6 separate regions of the Homo sapiens genome follow, and all the other regions are linked to region 1. The links are contacts of gene promoters, found by promoter capture Hi-C in blood cells and fetal thymus (Javierre and others, 2016). All regions are on one chromosome and are shown on one strand. Each heading gives the region's core, a stretch centred on a gene start or on the middle of the fragment in contact. The rest is flanking DNA. Distances are from core to core; before and after follow the strand shown. Region 1 holds the start of SPTA1 (spectrin alpha, erythrocytic 1). Region 2 has its middle 10 kb from the start of AIM2. Region 3 overlaps AIM2 (absent in melanoma 2). Region 4 has its middle 1.8 kb from the start of PYDC5. Region 5 has its middle 18 kb from the start of PYDC5. Region 6 overlaps PYHIN1 (pyrin and HIN domain family member 1).

Region 1 (3,230 bases), core at 700-3,199:
GTTCAACTCCCACTTATGAGTGAAAACATGTGGTGTTTGGTTTTCTGTCCTTGTGATAGTTTGTGGAGAATGATGGTTTTCAGCTTCATCCATATCCCTGCAAAGGACATGAACTCATCCTTTTTTATGGCTGCATAGTATTCCATAGTGTATAGGTACCACATTTTCTTTATCCAGTCTTTCACTGATAGGCATTCAGGTTGGTTCCAAAGGGCTAATATCCAGAATCTACAAGGAACTTAAACAAATTTACAGGAAAAAAACAAATGACCCCATCAAAAAGTGAGCAAAGGATATGAATAGACACTTCTCAAAAGAAGATATTTATGCAGTCAGCAAACATATGAAAAAAAGCTCATCATAACTGGTCATTAGAGAAATGCAAATCAAAACCACAATGAGATACCATCTCATGCCAGTTAGAATGGCGATCATTAAAAAGTCAGGAAACAGCAGATGCTGGAGACAATGTGGAGAAATAGGAATGCTTTTACACAGTTGGTGGGAGTGTAAGTTAGTTCAACCATTGTGGAAGACAGTGTGGCAATTCCTCAAGGATCTAGAACCATAAATACCATTTGACCCAGCAATCCCATTACTGGCTATATACCCAAAGGATTATAAATCATTCTACTATAAAAACACATGCACACATATGTATATTGTGGCACTATTCACAATGGGCCATACTATTTCTTTGGTCACAAGGTTATCACATGTTTGGCATTCTTGCTAAGATGATTCTGGAACAGGGAAACAGAACAAATAATGTTGATGGACTAAGAGAAGATTGACTAAAAAAATAAGGAGCAGAGTGCCATGATAATCATATTGATATGGATTTGACTATTTAAATACTTTCAAACCAAATCACCATAGAATGAAACTTTGTTTTTTAGGGACTGTTTTCTCACATAAAGACGGGTATGATAATACCTGCCTCACAGAATTTTTAAAGATTAGAAATTAATGTAAATTGATCATGTTAATATATAAATATTTCATAGATGTTGATTCTTTTCTCTTAAAGATAAAATAATTTCCTCTCCTTATCCCAACTTCAGACAAATATTCCTCAGTGCATGTGTTATAGTGCAGTCTCTAAAATTATGTTCCTGCCTTTACTACTAAATTTGACTTGAATATAATGAAACTATATGGAAAAGTAAAGTAATCCAGACTTTCAAGAAGAGAATGTAAAGGACTCTCAGTTTTTCTATGTGAGATCCAAGAACAGGGGAAACCACAAATGTAGAATCAAAATCTTCTCTTGTAGATCATGGAAGTTAGATTATTCAAGCTGCATTTACACTGGAATGAAGTTTGGCATGGATAGCCCCACTGGCTTGTAGAAAGGTCTAAGAGCATCCCACTATTTTCTTTTTGCTTGTTTGTTTCATTTTTGTAAGTTAGTCTAAAATAACTATGCCTATGGAAAAAGTCTACCTCTTTTTGTTCTCCATTAAAATTAATACATACAGTAGGATGATTTATACCATATATATCAGAAGTCAGCCATATTTTCAACTTTTTTGTGACATCATTGGTTTGTCAAATAAGGTATCCTAATTTTTGTTTTACAAAATATTAATGAACACATCATATAACTTTTTTTGTTCCTTCCATTTAAATGATTAAGAGTACAACTAAATCAGATTTTTAAAGACCAAATTGTTGAGGTTAGGAATAAAATCTTATTTTGTGAAAGACTCTCTAGAAAAAGCCAGGATAATTCGTTGACTTAAAGACTGTGAAAAATCTGCAGTTGAGTTGGATGAAGTTGTTGAGCTGTATTTCCTATAAATATATGGGGTTTTTTTTCTAATTTTTCATCCAAAAACCTTACTTTCATTTTTTAAGTCTTATTGAGTAACTTTGAAAGCCAGAGCCTCCCAAAACTGCTGAGTCACCCAGTATCTGTAAAACTTAGCAGTTGCCTCAGCTGAGTATGTCTTCTAAAGATAATGTCGATTGTGTATGGCTGATGGGATTCTAGGACCAAGCAAGAGGTTTTTTTTTTTCCCCCACATACTTAACGTTTCTATATTTCTATTTGAATTCGACTGGACAGTTCCATTTGAATTATTTCTCTCTCTCTCTCTCTCTGACACATTTTATCTTGCCAGGTTCTAAACCTTTAGGAAAAATGGAGCAATTTCCAAAGGAAACCGTAAGTACATATTTCTCTTCCATGCAATTTGTCATTAATATTATTAGGAAAGATGTTTCCTTTAAACTTTCTATACTATCTTTCCCAGGAACATTAATAATTATTTGGCTTTTAACAAATAGATAATTTTACTTTTAACTATTTTTTGTGAACAATAACCTTGAGCTTATGTCTGTGCAGCACCAAGACCCAGTAATGACTTAAGTCGGTTCCCAGAGAGAATAAGTAGGGAGATTGAAGCTAAATAACACCTAGTAACAACGTGAGTCTCCATGTAATGATCTAATTCTATAGCCATGCCAGTAATGGCAATTCACAGAGTAGCAATTATACTTAGGAGGAATAATGGGAGATTAAAATTTAAACTCTATATTAAACATTTTGGCTGAGGTAAGCTAGGGAAAATGGTATCCATATCCAGAAGAATGAAGGTGAACCCTATGGTGATTTTGCTGGATATTGTCACAAACAGGTTGGCTCCCACTCTGGGAAAAGGATACTTATATATTGTTTTAGAGTAAAAGTTTTTATATTTCAAAAATAAATTGCAGACATGCTAATAATTTGAAATTTGTGACAATTGGGCAGAAGATAGCTGAACTTTTGATTTATAGTGTTTGTGAGTAAAGCAAGTAAAGAGTAAATATATGAGATTTATTTTTAAGTATGAAGGAAACAAAATTTTCAAACTGTTGCATATATCATTAACTAAATTAATTGCAAGCCATTCTTAATTATTTATTAAATTAAGTTAAAAATAATAAGCACTTCTCAACACCTTTTTAGCCCTTGAAAGCAATAACATTATATTTCTTTTTATCTATCTGAAATTATGTGATTTTGCTGATTTAAACTTGCTCCATGATCAGTCCAATATAATTATATCTATAGAACTTAAATGCTAGCACAAATTTATGTAAAAAGTGAGGAGAGTCTTCTGGATAATCAAGAATTTTTAACCTAAACAGAAGCTATGTCTGGTTAAAAATTACGTAAATATACTACAGCTCTTCTGACAATAGTCCCTAGAAACTTCAGGATATCTGAATATAGGTCCAAC
Region 2 (3,230 bases), core at 250-2,749, 400 kb before region 1:
AGGGATTAAATTTCAACACGAGTTTTGAAGGAGACAAATATTTAAATCATGTCAGACATCAATACATAGAAAGAAAAAGCTGCAGTTACTTAGACACTGCAGTTTCATTGAAGCTGGTTCTTGGTGGAGGAACATCATTTGCCTCCATGGAGGCATATGTTTTGATATTGAATTGGGGAAAACCAGACTGAAGCTGTAAGTCATGCCCTTGGCATTATGAAGCAGCAAACATCGGGCCCAGCTGACTCATGCAGCTCCTGAATCCTGGCATTCCTTCCTCTCATGGTTCTAAGGCATGTTCTTTTATTGAAAAAACTTCTTGGCCACATGTTCAGGAAGATGTAGGATCCAAGTGTCAGAGACATAACTTCTGTGTCTCACATCTCACAGTCACATACCTCAAAGCCATTTTCCAGAGGCAGTTCAGTCACCCCCAGACCTCAAGCAGGCCTGATAACATCAAAAGCATCCTGTGCCTCATCTATGCCTCTTCCTCTTTTTCTGTCCACCCGATGTTCCACCTAGAGACTCAACTTATCACCAGTTATATTAAATCTTTCCACTATTTTGTAATTTCCCTTCATCTACTTTGTTAAATGAGAAACAGGAAAGAAGCAAGAATAAACTGAAAAATTTTTAATTATGCAAAAAAACTTAGGGATCAAAGGATCACTCTGGCAATGCAGAAATCTACCAAACTCTGCCACTTATCACTATTACATTTAAAAAAAGTAGACTTGGCTGGGCACGGTGGCTCACAACTAATTCCAGCACTTTGGGGGGCCAAGATAGGCGGATCACTTGAGGTCAGGAGCTCAAGACTAGCCTGGCCAACGTGGTGAAACCCCGTCTCTACTAAAAATACAAAAATTAGCTGGGCGTGGTGGTGGGCACTTGTAATCCAAGGTACTCCAGAGGCTGAAGCATGAGAATCGCTTGAACCCAGGAGGCAGAGGTTGCAGTGAGCCGAGATCACGCCACTGCACTCCAGCCCGGGTGACAGAGCAAGACTCCATCTCAAAAAAAAAAAAAAAAAGACTTTATCCAGAATAAAGAAAAAGCCTGGCATTGCTTTTTATAACACACAGATGGCATCATAGGTTATTAAGAATTTATTAATAATTGATTAATATAAATGGTGGGCTATAAATACCAGAATCGTCCTCCTGATCCCCCCATCCTTGTCTTCAGGTATACTTCCACAGTTCAGCACAAGTATGGTTCCTTCCACTGACACTTAAAGGTTAACTTAGTCTCAGCCATGGTGATCATTTTTTTTTTTTATCACAACCTCACCTGACTGCCATCATCCTTACCATCACCCTGACTCAGCCCTATCACTAGTATTGTCAATATAAAGGACATTGAGTAGTGTAGGAGTCAAGGAAAAGCGAAGAAGTAGAGACTGTTGGGTTGGGAGCCTAGGTCAGTGGGAGAGTTGTGGTTCCATTAACAGTAAAAGGGAAGTAAGAATGAGAAAGTACTTAGAGTCCTAAGACAATCAATGATTTAGGATATGTAGAGGTTGAATTTTTCATTATGTATTTAAATAAAAATGTGTAGCACAAAGTTTCAAATGTACACTTGGAGTTTTAAGGTGGTGAGTCTTGGTGATTTGAGTTTGCAATTATTTTATACAGATTCAGTTTCTGCCCCTAAGGAGTTTACACTTCACTGAAAAAGGCAGACAAGACATTAGCCCTCATAAAACAATATATTGATAGTCATAATAATAATGGATAGAGTTTACTGAGTTCTTTCTTTCAGTTACTTTGCTTAGTGTTTTAAACATGTAAACTCTTAATTTTCACAACACCTTCTAGGATTAGGGACTGACAGCCTTCAATAGACTAAGAGACTTACTCAAGGCCACACAGGTTGGTGGAGCAGGGATTTTAACTTGCACGGGTGTAGTGCCCAAGCCTGTGAGTTTACTTCTTTCCACTTTATTGCTGTGATGGAAAGTCCTGGAGATGATGGGAAAATAAACAACAGGAGCACTTAGCTCAGACTTGGGCTTGCAGGATTTGAAAACAATTTTGGAGAAAGTGAGATATAAAGAAGGACCTGGGGGTGAGTAAGAATTAGCCAGATGGGGGAGGAGAAGTAGAGGGCGAGGTATGTGCAGATTCACCTGGAGCCTAGTGTATGTGGGCAGAGGGAGGCCAGGAAGGGCCTGGCCCCAGAGCGCTCTGATGAGCTGGCCAACAGGAAAACAGAGGCAGCCTCATGTCACAAACAAAGCATCCATGTTTATGAGGTGGAAAGAGGAGAGACACTGACAACGAGGACAAAGATAGGTGGTTCAGAAGCTGGAAGAGCTTTAGGATCTGTTCTCTGGCTTTTATTAATATTTTTGCCTCACCCTTGTTGCCTTTTTACCTGCTCCCTGTTTCAGTACATTGATATCAAATATAAGTAGAGCAAACCAAATTAAACATCATAGAATGATGGGTAAAATCTGGTGGAAGCAAATAATTATCTGTTGGATGTTTCCTAGATCTGAAACAGGATTTGCTAGATCTGAGCCCTATCCTTCTTTCCCCTCACACTCCACCACCAGCTTTATTGAGGTATAATCAACAAATAAAAATTGTATATTTACAGTATACAACGTGATGTTTTGATATTTGTGTACATTATGAAATGATAAAGTTAATAAACATGTCTGCCACCTCACATAGTGTGTGTGTGTTAGAACATTTAAGATCTACTCTCTTAGCGATACTCAAGTACACACTACGTCACTGAGTGCCATCTTCCTTGAAATACTCTTTGCCTTGCCTTCCAGCACTCCACCAGGTCTGGCTTCTTTTCTCTACTGCTCTGACCTTTCTTTGTAAGTCTTCCTTGTTGACTCTTCCTCTTTAGCCCAACCACTTGCTGTCTGAGCTCTACGTGGCTTGGAGGCCTGCCCCCTTCTCCTTCATGATGGCCTCTCCTGACAGTCTCATCCTGTTCTGCAGCATCAGCTGCCATCTGTATTTGGATGCTGCCCACGTTACTGTCTGGAGTTCTGACCTTTCGTCTAAGCTCCAGGCTTATATATTCAATTAAACATCTCCATTTACATATCTCTTGGGCACCTCAAACGCAACACCTCCACCGCTAAACCCACATTTTCCTCACTTACTTTGACCTACTCCTCCTTGGGTACTCCCTGTCTCTGTAATGACACTATCATTCACCTACTTTCCTGAGCCAGAAATCTGGGAATAATTCTGGAATCC
Region 3 (3,230 bases), core at 282-2,781, 380 kb before region 1:
CTACACATGTTACTTCCAAGTAACCAACCAAAACATTGCCCTGTGTTTTTCTTATCTGGGATGAGCCAGGAATCTAGGCATATTGGCAAACATAGGCTGAGATATTTAGAAATATCTTTTATTTTGGTAATAAATCAAGAATTAATTCTTCTCTTTGACCAGGATAGAACAAAATTTCCCCTTCTACAATCTTCTCCCCATTTTGCTATTCTAATGATTCTGGGATTTTGTTATTCTGCTTAGCTAAAAAAGATCCAGTTTGGGACTAGCTTGGAAACTCAGGAGTAGATTATCCAAGGACTCTCCCAAATGAGAGTCTCCAAATGTAACAGTTGTAGGATTCAAAGTATGCTTTTGGGCCAGGCGCAGTGGCTCACGCCTTTAATCCCAGCACTTTGGGAGGCCAAGGCGGGTGGATCACTTGAGTTCAGGAGTTCGAGATCAGCCTGGCCAACATAGTGAAACTTTGTCTCTACTAAAAATACAAAAATTAGCCAGGCATGGTGGCGGGCATCTGTAATGCCAGCTACTTGGGAGGCTGAGGCACGAGAATCACTTGAACCTGGGAGGGAGAGGTTGCAGTGAGCTGAGATCACACCTCTGCACTCCTGCCTGGGCAACAACAGTGAGACCCTGTCTCAAACAACAACAACAACAAAACACAAAGTATGCTTCTTGCATGCTATACAAGAAGGCAGTTAAGTTCCTTCATAGCTCTAAAATTCTATCCACGGACATACTTAGGCCGCTTTTGAATGTAGGAAATTTTTGTGTGTCCATGCTATTTCTATTATTTTAGGAAAACAGTTTTTGTTTTATTTTTTGAACAGTTAATCTGTCATTCTTGGTTAAGTGATCCTTCTCCATTGCCATTGCATGTCTGCATGTAGAGTGCTATATGCTATTCTACTCATGACCTCACCTCATGGAAGGTAGAAGATACCTGGAGAATCTTTAATGAAGACAGAGGCAATAATTAGTAGACAGGAGAAGCTTTTGTATGAAGCAAGATGAGAAAATATAAGGACACATAAGCGTAGAAAAAGGAAGCTAAGAGAAAATGTGATCAAAGTCCACAAAAGTCCTGCAAGATTAAAATAAAATGCTGAAAATGATAAATGAAATAATCAGTAACAATGTGCACCTGATTATTAAGGCAAATGAGAGATTTATAATTGGCAGACAAGCTTGTCCACAAATATTGCATTGGTACCACAGTGTGTGAAATGAAATATGGCTGATGTGATGTGGTAGAATGGTAGGTTGATTCCTTCCGCCTCCCTTGATGCTGTTTTCTCTCCGATGCTGTGAACATAGAAGAGAGACTTTATCTGCATACCTTTCTGAAACCAATTTCATGGAACTAACTTACCATTGGAAGGTTAGTTTAACTTCTTCCTAGTGCAGAGATCCTGCTACAATATCCCTGTCAGACAGTCAACCACTTTCTGATCTTTGAAAGGTAATGACAGAGTACCTACTACCTCATAAGACAGTTCATTCTACTCTTAGCTCTAATAATTAAATCGTTTCTCTTTTTAGTAAAATCAGTGATTGCCTTGCTATTTCAGTCCAGAATTGTTCAAATTCTATCAGAAATAACATCTAATAATTTCCCAGGCCCTCTTCTGCCTGAGAGTGCCTTAAGTCATCAAACATGGCCATCTTGTTACATGGTCTTTTTAAAAATCAGGAGTAGGAGTTGGCTTTTCACGATAACATATAACCTGACCATAGACGTGGAGGAGCCCAGCCAGAGTATACGACTGCATTTTGTAGGCATTAGTGAGGAGCCAACATGCCACCCATCCATCCATTTCTTCATCCATTCAGTAAATATCCATTGAATTGCTAATAGGTACAAGGAAAGCTTTTAGGTTCTTATGATAAAACAAGGTTTTAAAAACAAATCCAAATTTTGTACAGTTTATACTCTAAAGGGAAAGTAGATATTTTTCTTACAGGCAAATTAACTGAGACAGGTAACTAACTGAGACAAATGTTCTGATGGAAAGGAAGATGGTTCTTCAGCAGCATGTGTCAAAGGAGCATTAACATAAGCCAGGAGTTAGAGTTGGTGTTGGTCAAAGCGGGTTCCATGGGGAAGTGACTTGCACTAAGCTGTGAAAAATGCATAGGAGTTAAAGGTACCTTCAGTCAGAGGGAACACTGTGTGAAAATCCCTCTGACAGCAGGTGTTGACTTGCTTGAGGACTGAAAGAAGGCCAGTATGGCTGCAGTACAGAGAATCTTCAGAGGGCAGGATGGGGTCCCCTCGACAGAAGGAAAATGCAAGGCCTTGTAGAACATAATTAGAAATCTGTGGCCAGGCGCGGTGGCTCACGCCTGTAATCCCAACACTTTGGGAGGCTGAGGTGGGCGCATCACGAGGTGAGGAGCTCAAGACCAGCCTTAACAACATGGTGAAACCCCATCTTTACTAAAAAAATACAAAAATTAGTCAGGCGTGGTGGCATGAGCCTGTAATCCCAGCTACTCAGGAGGCTGAGGCAGGAGAATCACTTGAACCCAGGAGGCAGAGGTTGCAGTGAGCCAAGATTGCGCCACTGCACTCCAGCTTGGGTGACGGAGTGAGACTCCGTCTCAAAAAAAAAAAAAAGAAAGAAATCAGCCCTTGTTTCATAGCAGCAGTTTATTCATTTTCACTACTACATAAGATTCCATTTAATTGATAATTACATATACACATAAACTGATATACATATATATAGAGAGAGAGAATTGGTGTATTTTTATTGTTATTTTAGTCATTGGAGGCCATTATGAATAATGCTGCTATGAATATTTATGTACATTATAAGCCTTATATACTTATCTTTGTATGTTTGTATTTGTATGTGTGTTTCTCTTGACTGTACACCTGTGAATGGTATTACTGGATGTTAAGGTAAGTAGATATTGAATTTTAATAAATAGCGTCCCAAACCATTTTCCAAAGTGTTATACCAATTTAAGACGACTACTACTTCATAGTTTTTGTTTCTTGTCTTTTTTTTTTTTTTGAGACAGACAGGGTCTCACTGTGTCATCCAAGCTGGAGTGCAGTGGTGCAATCATGACTCACTGCAGCTTTGAACTCCTGGGCTTAAGTTATCCTTGCCTCAGCCTCCCAAGTAGCTGGGACTAAAAACATGTGCCATTATACCTGGCTAATTTTGAAAATATTTTTTGTAAAGATAGGGTCTCCCTATGTTGACTAAGCTGGTCTC
Region 4 (3,230 bases), core at 1-2,500, 320 kb before region 1:
GTGTGGGGTATTTTCTTAACTCGCTTGGGTACAACAATATAAGCACAAGGCAAGCTCAGACCAAAGAAGAGGCAGACCACTCCTGGCTGGTTGGTAGTCAAAGATCTAGATAGCAGAAACTTACACAGGAGGCAGTCTTAAGCGGGAACAAGAGAAGTCAGATCTCCACCTCGCAGTGCACGCCTGAGTAGTCTTTCAGACAGTGAGAAGAAACAAGGAAGGAAAAGCTGATGGGGGCGCTGAGGGGTGGGGATAGCTATACCGATAGTGCCTTAGGCCATCTGGTTGCTCTCTTAATCTATTTACTTCCTGCTTAAATGGATTGTTTGAGCTTCCTTCAATCTGTTCCACATTGCTAAGGAGTGGGAGGATGTTCCTGGAAGCAGCAGTCATCTTGGTGCCAGTATGCATTTTCCAGTGGGACTGCAGCCTCCTACAATTCAATTTAAGCTCAGTTCCCAGAACACGTTTTCACAACAATGCCATTCCTTCCCCTCCAACCTCAAGGCTTCTCTCAGCCAGTCCTTCCTTGAAATTTTGTAGTTTCTGTATTGCAGTTTTGTATTCTACTTTTCCTGTTGCTCAAAGCTAATGCCATAAACTCCAGACAACTCTGTTGGCAGAAAGAGCTTCTGTAGTTCTAGGGATGACCTCTTTACTTTGGAGTGGAATAAAAGAGACTCAGTGTTGAGGCAGGAGAGGAGAGTGAATGCATATGGAAACCTGGGGAGTGATGTGAACCAGTCATGATATACTGTACAAGGCCAGAGTTGGCATCATTCATCTGTTTATTGCATGTCTCATGGAGAAAATATGAGTGAAAGAAGTTTCTGGTTCATGAAAACTCCTGTTCTCTGACCCTCCCTGTAATGGACATGCATACTTTCCCACTGTCTTAGTCCATTTAGTGCTGCTGTAATGGAATACTATAGACTGGGTAATTTATACAGAACAGAAATGTATTTCTCACAGTACTTGAGGTGGAAGTCCAAGGTCAAGCATCAGTATCTGGTGAGGCCTTCTTGCTGTGTCCTCACATGACAAACGGGGCGAATTCACCCCCTACATGCCCGTTAGAGTGGCATTAATCAGTCTATTTACGTGAGTGAAATTCTCATGATCTAAATACCTCCCATTTGGCCCAAGCTCCCAACACTGTTGCATTGGGTACTAAGTTTCAACATTATTTTTGAAGGGGGTAAAAACATTGATAGTTTCTACTTCTCCGGCTTTATCTCTGCTATCTTCATTCTTTATTTGCTTATTTTATCTAAAACTGTTCTCCAGAAAGCATTCTTTGAGGATCTTTACTAGATTGATAATTTCTTTACTCTGTTTAATTTCAGGACTTCACTTTGGCTGTCAAAATTTCCCTTGATATAATTTATCTCTAAAATTGAAGATGAGATTCTCTACTGTTGTCAGTAATGAACTCTCCACCCTAAACATCTGGTTTTGGGAATTTTTTTTCTTTTGAGACGGAGTCTTGCTCTGTTGTGATGGCACGATCTCGGCTCATTGCAACCTCTGCCTCCCAGGTTCAAGTGATTCTCCTGCTTCAGCCTCCTAAGTAGCCAGAATTACACGCATGCACCATCAAGCCTGGCTAATTTCTGTATTTTCAGTAAAGACAAGGTTTCACCATGCTGGCCAGGCTGGTCTCAAACTCCTGATCTCAAGTGACCCACCCACCTCGGCCTCCCAAAGTGCTGGGATTAGAGGCGTGAGTCACGATGCCCGGCTGGTTTTGGGAATTCTTACCCCAAATTACTAACATCTATAATTTACTCAGATTTACTTAGCAATAAGGGCAAAATTAACTGAAATTTAGATTTCTTAACCTTTTTTTTTTCTTTTGGAGATAAGGTCTTGCCATGTTGCCCAGGCTGATCTCAAACTCCAGAGCTCAAACAATCTACCTACCTCAGCCTCCCAAAGTGCTGGGATTACAGGCATAAGCCACCACATCCATCCTTAATATTTTGGCTGGAATTTGGGTATTAATATATTAAGAAGAGAGAAATAAAATTTACAAGTAATGGAGAAGTGGTGTTTGAATTTTATTTCCTTTTATGTTTTAGATTAAGGGTTGACAATCTTTGGTTCAAGGAAAGAAACTGCTGTTCACACAAATAAGTGCTTCTATGTGTTTGAATGTTTAAGGTATCAAGTCATGAGTGTCAGAAATGCAAAATAATACAGAATTGGCTGGGCGCGGTGGCTCACGCCTGTAATCCCAGCACTTTGGGAGGCTGAGGCGGGCGGATCACAAGGTCAGGAGATCGAGACCATCCTGGCTAACACAGTGAAACCCCGTCTCTACTAAAAATACAAAAAATTAGCTGGGCATGGTGGCGGGCGCCTATAGTCCCAGCTACTCGGGAGGCTGAGGCAGGAGAATGGTGTGAACCCAGGAGGCGGAGCTTGCAGCGAGCCGAGCTCATGCCACTGCACTCCAGCCTGGGCGACAAAGCGAGACCCCGTCTCAAAACATAATAATAATAATAATAATAATACAGAATTATGGACATACAAGATAGGAGAAGTTTATGGTGCAAATACCTATCGCCTTGGTCTTTTTGTTCCCTAACTCAGTGACAGGTGGCTAACTGCTCCTTAGGCTGATAGAGCCAAAACGTGATTCCAGCCTAAGAATCACAAAAGAGCAAAACAGAGGAGGGATTGCTTAGGTAACAGAGATCGAGCTCCTTTAGGAATTTGGAATATGGCAAGTTATTTCTTCTTAGCTTTACGGCAGTAATTTAAGTGTTATGTGATTTTGTAATTGCAGAATATTATGACATAGCCAGAATAAAAATACATCTATTGTCTAAATAGATAACTGGATTCACCAGTTAAATTATCGTGAAAAAATAACTAATAGCAGAAACATTAAAATAAACCATGCGATTTTCTATCAGCTTAGTCTGAAAGTTCACACAAATTCAATTACTTGAAGTTTCCCTGCAATACACCATGTTTTACTTCCTTCTTAGAATCTAGGGTATCTTGCACAGTGGAACCATAGGAAGTTGGATTACTCCCACCAGAGATGGAAGTTTCCAAATTTTCCACTTTTATTAAATATATGTTATATATTTGGCATAATGCCTTGGATTTTGAAAAGCCTTCTTAACCTTGCTGTCTTTTGAAATCATTCTACAAGTAGATAGATATGGTTTGATTATAATTTTGTTTTTTATCTATGCTATTTCTGGCTTGAACATCCC
Region 5 (3,230 bases), core at 471-2,970, 300 kb before region 1:
CCTCCAAACTACCATGCTACCTACCCAGCAAAGTCTAGATGGCAATGAAGATTCTTGAAATATAGGAGAAAGCAGAAACCCAATCAAAGGAATCTAAGAAATCCAATAAAATAATACAAAAGCTTAAAGATAAAATAGCCATTTTAAGAAAGAACCAAACTAACCTACTAGAGCTGAAAACTCACTACAAAAATTTCATAATATAATTGGAAGTACTAACAGCAGAAGCTGAGGAAAGCTGAGGAAAGAAATCTCAGAGCTTGAAGATCAGTTCTTCAAATCAACTCAGTCAGATAAAAATAAAGGAAAAAATAATAAAATATGAACGAAACTTCAAGAAATATGAGTTTATGTAAAGAGACCAAACCTACAACTGATTTGCATCACAGAAAGAGAGGGAGAGAGACCAAGCAACTTGGAGAACATATTTGAAGATATTGTCCCTGAAAATTTACCTGACCTTGCTAGAGAGGTTGACATGTAAATTCAGGAAATTCAGAGTACCCCAGCAAGATATTACACAAGATGACAATCCCTAAGACACATAGTTATCCAATTCTCCAAGATCAAGGTAAATAAAACATATGAAAGGCAGCAAAAGAGAAGAGGCAGATCATGTACAAAGGGAACCCTTATCACACTAACAGTGGACCTTTCAGCAGAAATTTTTCAAGCCAGAAAAGATTAAAGGCCTACATTCAGCATTCTTAAACAAAAGAAATTCTAACCATGATTTCATATCCAGCCGAACCAAGCTTTGTAAGTGAAAAAGAAACATAATCCTTTTCAGACAAACAAACACTAAGCGAATTTGTTACCATTAGGCCTGCCTTATAAGAGGTCCTTCAGGGAGTGCTGAACATGGAAACAAAAGGCTGCTACCTGCCACAAAACAACACACTTAAGTAAATATTCCACTGACACAATATGCAACTATACAATCAAGTCTACATAACAACCAGCTAATAACACTATGACAGGATCAAATCCTTACATATCAATATTAACCTTGAACATAAGCAGGCTAACCACTCCACTTAAAAGGCACAGAATGGTAAGTTGGATAAAGAAGCAAGACTCAATTACATGCTGTCTTCAAGAGACCCACCTTACATGTAAAGACACAGGCTTAAATTAAATGGATGGAGGAATATCTATAAAGCAAATGGAAAACAAACAAAATAGAGCAGGGGTTGCTCTTTTATTTCAGGAAAAAAAAAACAGACCTTAAACCAAAAGCTATCAAAGAGGATGAAGAAGGGCATCACATAATGATAAAAAGTTCAATTCTACAAACAAGACTTAACTATCCTAAAGATGTGTGCATTCAGCACTGGCACAACCAGATTCATAAAACAAGTTCTTAGAGACCTATGAAGAGAACTAGCTAACCTCACAATAATAGTGGGAGAATACAACACCCTACTAACATTGTTAGATAAATCATTGAGGGAGAAAACTAACAAAGATATTCAGGAACAAAATTTCACACTTGACTAAATTGACCTAACAGACATATAAGGAACATTCCACTCAACAACAGAATATACATTCTTCTCATCTGCACATGGCACATACTCTGTGCCACATGCTTGGCCACATGCTTGGCCATAAAGCAATGCTCAGGAAATTCAAAAAACAGAAATTATATCAACCACACTCTCAGATCACAGTGCAACAAAAATACAAATCAATACCAAGAAGATCTCTGAAAATCATAGAAGTATTTGGAAATTAAACAACTTACTCCTGAATGACTTTTGGGTAATAAATTAAATTAATGCAGAAATCAAGAAATCTTTGAAACTAATGAAAACAAAAATACAATATATCAGAGTCTCTGGGACACAGCTAAAGCAGTGTTAAGAGAAAAGTTTATAGCACTAAAGGCCTACATCAAAAAGTCAGAAATATCTTAAATTTATACCTAACATCACATTTACAGGAACTAGAAAAAACAAAAGGAAACCAACCCCCAAACTAGCAGAAGAAAAATAATAATCAAAATCTAAGTTGAACCAAATAAAATTGAGATGTGAAAATTCACAAAAATAATTAAGAAAACTAAAAATTGGTTTTTTGAAAGAATAAGATATATAGACCACTAGCCAGATTAATATACAAAAAAAAAAAAAAAAACAGGAGAAGATCCAAATAAATACAATTAGAAATGACAAAGGGGACATTACCATGGAACCCACAGAAATACAAAAACTCTCAAAGACCATTATGAACAATTTCTATGCTGAAAAACTAGAAAATCTAGAAGAAACAGATAAATTCCTGAAAACATACAACCTGCCAAGATTGAACCAGGAAGACATTGAATACCTAAACAGATCAATAACAAGTTCTGAAATTGAATCCATAATAAAATACCTACAAACCAACAAAAGCCATGGATCAGACAGATTCACATCTGAATTCTACCTGATAGATAAGGAGGAGCTGATACCAATCCTACCAAAATTATTCCAAAATATTGAGGAGCGGAGACTCTGCCCTGAATCATTCTATGAGGTCAGCATTATTCTGATACCAAAACCTGACAGAAACACAAAGGAAAAACAAATTCAGGACAATATGCCTGATAAATATTGATGCAAAAGTCCTCAAAAAAAAATACTAGCAAACTAAATCCAGCAGCACAGCAAAAGCTAAGCCACCATGATCAAGTAAGCTTTACCCCTGGAATGCAAAGTTGGTTCAACATACGCAAATTGGTAAATGTGATTTATCACATAAACAGAACTAAAAACAAAAATCACGTGATTATCTAAATAGATGCAGAAAAGGTTTCAATAAATTCAACATTCTTTCATGTTAAAAACCCTCAACAAACTAGGTATCAAAGGAACATACCTCAAAATGAGACATCTATGACAAAACCACAGCCAACATCATATCACAAATAGGCAAAAGCTGAAATCATACCTCTTGAGAACCAGAACAAGACAAAGTTGCCTACTCTCACTACTCCTGGTTCAACATAGCACTGGAAGTTCTAGCCAGAGCAGTCAGGCAAGAGAAAAAAAAATAAAAGACGTCCAAATAGAAAGAAAGGAAGTCAAACTACCTCCTTTTGCAGGTAATATGATTCTATACCCAGAAAACCCCATAGCCTTTGCCCCAAATTTCCCAGAAATTATAAACAACTTCAGCAAAGTCTCAGGATACAAAATCAATGTACAAAAATTAGTAGCATTTCTATACAACTAATAATACCCAAG
Region 6 (3,230 bases), core at 212-2,711, 280 kb before region 1:
TCCACAAATAGTAATTTTAGAAAGTGTACAGAGAAATATGAATTATTGGAATTCACCAGTCAAAAAGAACAAAAGCAGCAACAAAACAAAATGTAAAAATGAGAACTCCTTACATAGGAGTCCTGTCTTCAACTGGTACACATGTATTAGTGATGCAGAAAGAAGGTTGGTCAGAGTGCAATATGGTAATGGGTAAGATACTAGATTGGAAGATAGTGACTCAGTTTTCCTTTTACCTTAGCTTCAAGTTGCCTGCCCATTTACTGAAGATATAGGCATCTGATTCATAGGCCTTAACATGGCAGTGAAAGAGAAAGAACGAAATAGTGAGTCACAGTTACCTAATTTCTCATGCGAAGCCTTGCAGAACCTGAATTATGGAAACAAACTCAAACCATAACGATGTCTGACTTTAAATATATAGAAAAATATTTCAGAAATTTTAACATCTACATTCTGACTCTGGAAGCAATATATGACCATGAAATACTTAAGTTTTAGAGTTCATTAAGGCTGGATTTGAATGTTGACTGTAAGACCAAAAATTATTTTTTTAACTTTTATTTTAGGTTCAGAGGTACATGTGCAGGTTTGTTACATAGGTAAACTGCATGTCACAGGGGTTTGGTGGACAGATTATTTCATCACCCAGGTATTAAGCTTGATACCCACTAAGAATTGTTTTTTCATCCTCTCCCTCTTCCCATCCTCCATCTTCAAGTAGGCGCCAGTGTCTGTTGTTCTCCTCTTTGGGTCCGTGTGTTCTCTCATTGTTTAGCTCTGTTTATAAGAATGGCATCCAGCTCCATTCATGTTGGTGCAAAGGACATGATCTTATTGTTTTTTGTGGCTGTGTAGTATTCCATGGTGTGCATGTGCCACACTTTCTTTATCCAGTCTAACGTCAATGGACATTTAGGGTGATTCCATGTCTTTGCTATTGTGAATAGTGGTGCAATGAACATATGCATGCATGTGTCTTTGTGGTAGAATAATTTATATTCCTTTGGGCATATGCCCAGTACTAGGATTGCTGGGTCAAATGGGAGTTCTGTTCTAAGTTCTTTGAGGAATTGTCACACTGCTTTCCACAATGGCTGAACTAATTAACACTCCCACTGGCAGTATATAAGTGTTCCCTTTTCTCTGCAAGCTCACCAGTATCTGTTATTTTTTGACTTTTTAATAACAGTCATTCTGATTGGTGTGAGATGTTACCTCATTGTGGTTTTGATTTGCATTTCTCTAATAATTAGTGATGTTGAGCATTTTTTCATGTTTGTTGGCCATGTGTATGTTTTCTATTGAGAAGGGTCTGTTCACATCCTTTGCCCACTTTTTAATGGGGTGGCTCATTTTTTTCTTGTAAATTGGTTTACATTCTTTATAGATTCTGGATAACAGATCTTTGTTGGATGCAAAGTTTGCAATTTTTTTTTTCTCATTCTGTAGATAGTTTGATTACTTTGTTGGTAATTTCTTTTGCTGTGCAGAAGTTCATTAGTTTAATGAAGTCCTATTTGTCATTTTTTCTTTATGTTGTAATTGTTTATGGCATCTTCAAAACGAAGTCTTTTCCAGGCCCTATATCCAGAATGGTATTTTCTAGGTCATCTTCCAGGGTTTTTATAGTTTTAGATTTTACACTGAAGCCTTCAATTCATCTTGAATTGACTTTTGTATATGGTGTAAGGAAGGGGTCCAGTTTTAATCTTCTGCATATGGCTAGCCAGTTATCTCAGCACCATTTATTGAAAAAGGAGTCCTTATCCCATTGCTTGTCATTGTCAACTTTGTCAAAGATCCAGTGATTGTAGGTGGGCGGCCTTATTTCTGGGCTGTCTATTCTGTTTCATTGGTCTATGTGTCTGTTTTTGTACCAGTACTATGCTCTTTTGGTTACTGTAACCTTGCAGTATAGTTTGAAGTTGGGTCAAGTGATACCTCCAGCTTTGTTCTTTTTGCTTAGGATTGCTTTGACTATTCAAGTTCATTTTTGGTTTTATATAAATTTTAAAATCGTGTTTTCTAATTCTGTGAAGAATGTCATTGGTAGTTTGATAGGAATAGCATTGAATCTGTACATTGCTTTGGGAAATCTGGCCATTTTTAATAATATTGATTTTTCCTATCCATGAGCATGGAACTTTTCCTATTTGTTTGTGTTCCTTCATTTCTTTGAGCAGTGTTTTGTAATTCTTATTGTTAATAACTACCTCCTTGGTTAGCCTCTCTGTGATTGCCTAACCTCTCCAAGCTTCAGTTTCCTTATGTAAAAAATGAAATGATTGCCTCATTATTTTGATTTGAAGATTATGAGAAAAATGGATCCAAAGTGATGTACACAGTGCCTGTCACATAAGACACAATATACAAAACAGACTACATTCTAAGAAAACCCTCTCATCCCACAAATAGCCTGCTCTAGAAAAAAATGTAGTATGGTGATTTCCAACCTTGATGAATACAATAAATCCTTTTGTCAATTTTTGTGGCAATTGTGAACGGAATTGCATTCCTGTTTTGACTCTCAGCTTGGATGTTGTTGGTTTATAGGAATGTGTACTGATTTTTGTATATTGATTTTGTATCCTGAAACTTTGCTGAAGTTGTTTATGAGATCAAAGAGCTTTTCTGCAGAGACTATGGGTTTTTCTAAATACAGGATTTTGTCATCTGCAAAAAGTGATAGTTTGACTTTCTCTTTTCCTACTTGGATGCCTTTTATTTCTTTATCTTGCCTGATTCCTCTGGCCGGGATTTCTAGTACTCTATTGAATAGGAATGGTGAGGGAGGCCATCCTTGTCTTGTTCCAGTTTTCAAGGGGAGTGCTTCTAGCTTTTGTCCATAAAGTATGATGTTGGCTGTGGGTTTGTTGGAAATGGTTCTTATTATTTTGAAGTATGTTCATTCAATGTCTAGAGTATTTAGGGTTTTTAACATGAAGGGATGTTGCATTTTATTGAAAGCTGTTTCTGCATCGATTGAGATGATTATGTAGCTTTTTGGTTCTGTTTATGTGATGAACCACATTTATTGTTTTGTATATGTAACTTTGTATTCCAGAGATAAAGCCTACTTGATTGTGTTGGACTAGCTTTTTGAAGTACTGCTAGATTTTGTTTACTTGTATTTTTTTGAGGATTTTTGCATGTATGTTCATCAAGAATAACCACCTGAAGTTTTCTTTTTTTGTTGTGTCTCTGCCTTTTGTTATCAGGATGATGCT

The links. Contacts are between HindIII fragments. The CHiCAGO score rates a contact against its expected background, and 5 or more counts as called.
Region 2: a contact is called between a fragment that was not itself captured here and the fragment with the promoter of SPTA1 in region 1, in 1 of 17 cell types (megakaryocytes). The highest score is 5.8, in megakaryocytes.
Region 3: a contact is called between a fragment that was not itself captured here and the fragment with the promoter of SPTA1 in region 1, in 2 of 17 cell types (megakaryocytes and erythroblasts). The highest score is 6.9, in megakaryocytes.
Region 4: a fragment that was not itself captured here is called in contact with the fragment with the promoter of SPTA1 in region 1 in 2 of 17 cell types (megakaryocytes and erythroblasts); the score reaches 13.8 in megakaryocytes.
Region 5: a contact is called between a fragment that was not itself captured here and the fragment with the promoter of SPTA1 in region 1, in 2 of 17 cell types (erythroblasts and megakaryocytes). The highest score is 12.7, in erythroblasts.
Region 6: a contact is called between a fragment that was not itself captured here and the fragment with the promoter of SPTA1 in region 1, in 2 of 17 cell types (erythroblasts and megakaryocytes). The highest score is 8.2, in erythroblasts.

Annotation. Positions count from the first base shown.
Region 1 is chr1:158,685,434-158,688,663 of GRCh38, reverse strand. It overlaps SPTA1 (spectrin alpha, erythrocytic 1), which reads left to right and starts at 1,949. Exons shown (of 52, transcript NM_003126.4): 1 at 1,949-2,170. The coding sequence starts at 2,147. RefSeq lists a silencer at 1-102. The HindIII fragment of the contact is 3,907 bases long and covers 1-3,230 here.
Region 2 is chr1:159,085,380-159,088,609 of GRCh38, reverse strand. It overlaps a transcript of AIM2 not described here. Among named protein-coding and RNA genes, the nearest start is that of AIM2, 10 kb to the right of the region's middle. The HindIII fragment of the contact is 5,350 bases long and covers 1-3,230 here.
Region 3 is chr1:159,068,937-159,072,166 of GRCh38, reverse strand. All of the region lies in intron 2 of AIM2 (absent in melanoma 2), which reads left to right. Among named protein-coding and RNA genes, the nearest start is that of AIM2, 6.2 kb to the left of the region's middle. The HindIII fragment of the contact is 683 bases long and covers 1,190-1,872 here.
Region 4 is chr1:159,002,936-159,006,165 of GRCh38, reverse strand. It overlaps a transcript of IFI16 not described here. Among named protein-coding and RNA genes, the nearest start is that of PYDC5, 1.8 kb to the right of the region's middle. RefSeq lists enhancers at 1-253, 254-779. The HindIII fragment of the contact is 4,916 bases long and covers 1-3,230 here.
Region 5 is chr1:158,982,938-158,986,167 of GRCh38, reverse strand. It overlaps a transcript of PYHIN1 not described here. Among named protein-coding and RNA genes, the nearest start is that of PYDC5, 18 kb to the left of the region's middle. The HindIII fragment of the contact is 1,925 bases long and covers 758-2,682 here.
Region 6 is chr1:158,966,382-158,969,611 of GRCh38, reverse strand. All of the region lies in intron 7 of PYHIN1 (pyrin and HIN domain family member 1), which reads right to left. Among named protein-coding and RNA genes, the nearest start is that of PYDC5, 35 kb to the left of the region's middle. The HindIII fragment of the contact is 1,597 bases long and covers 663-2,259 here.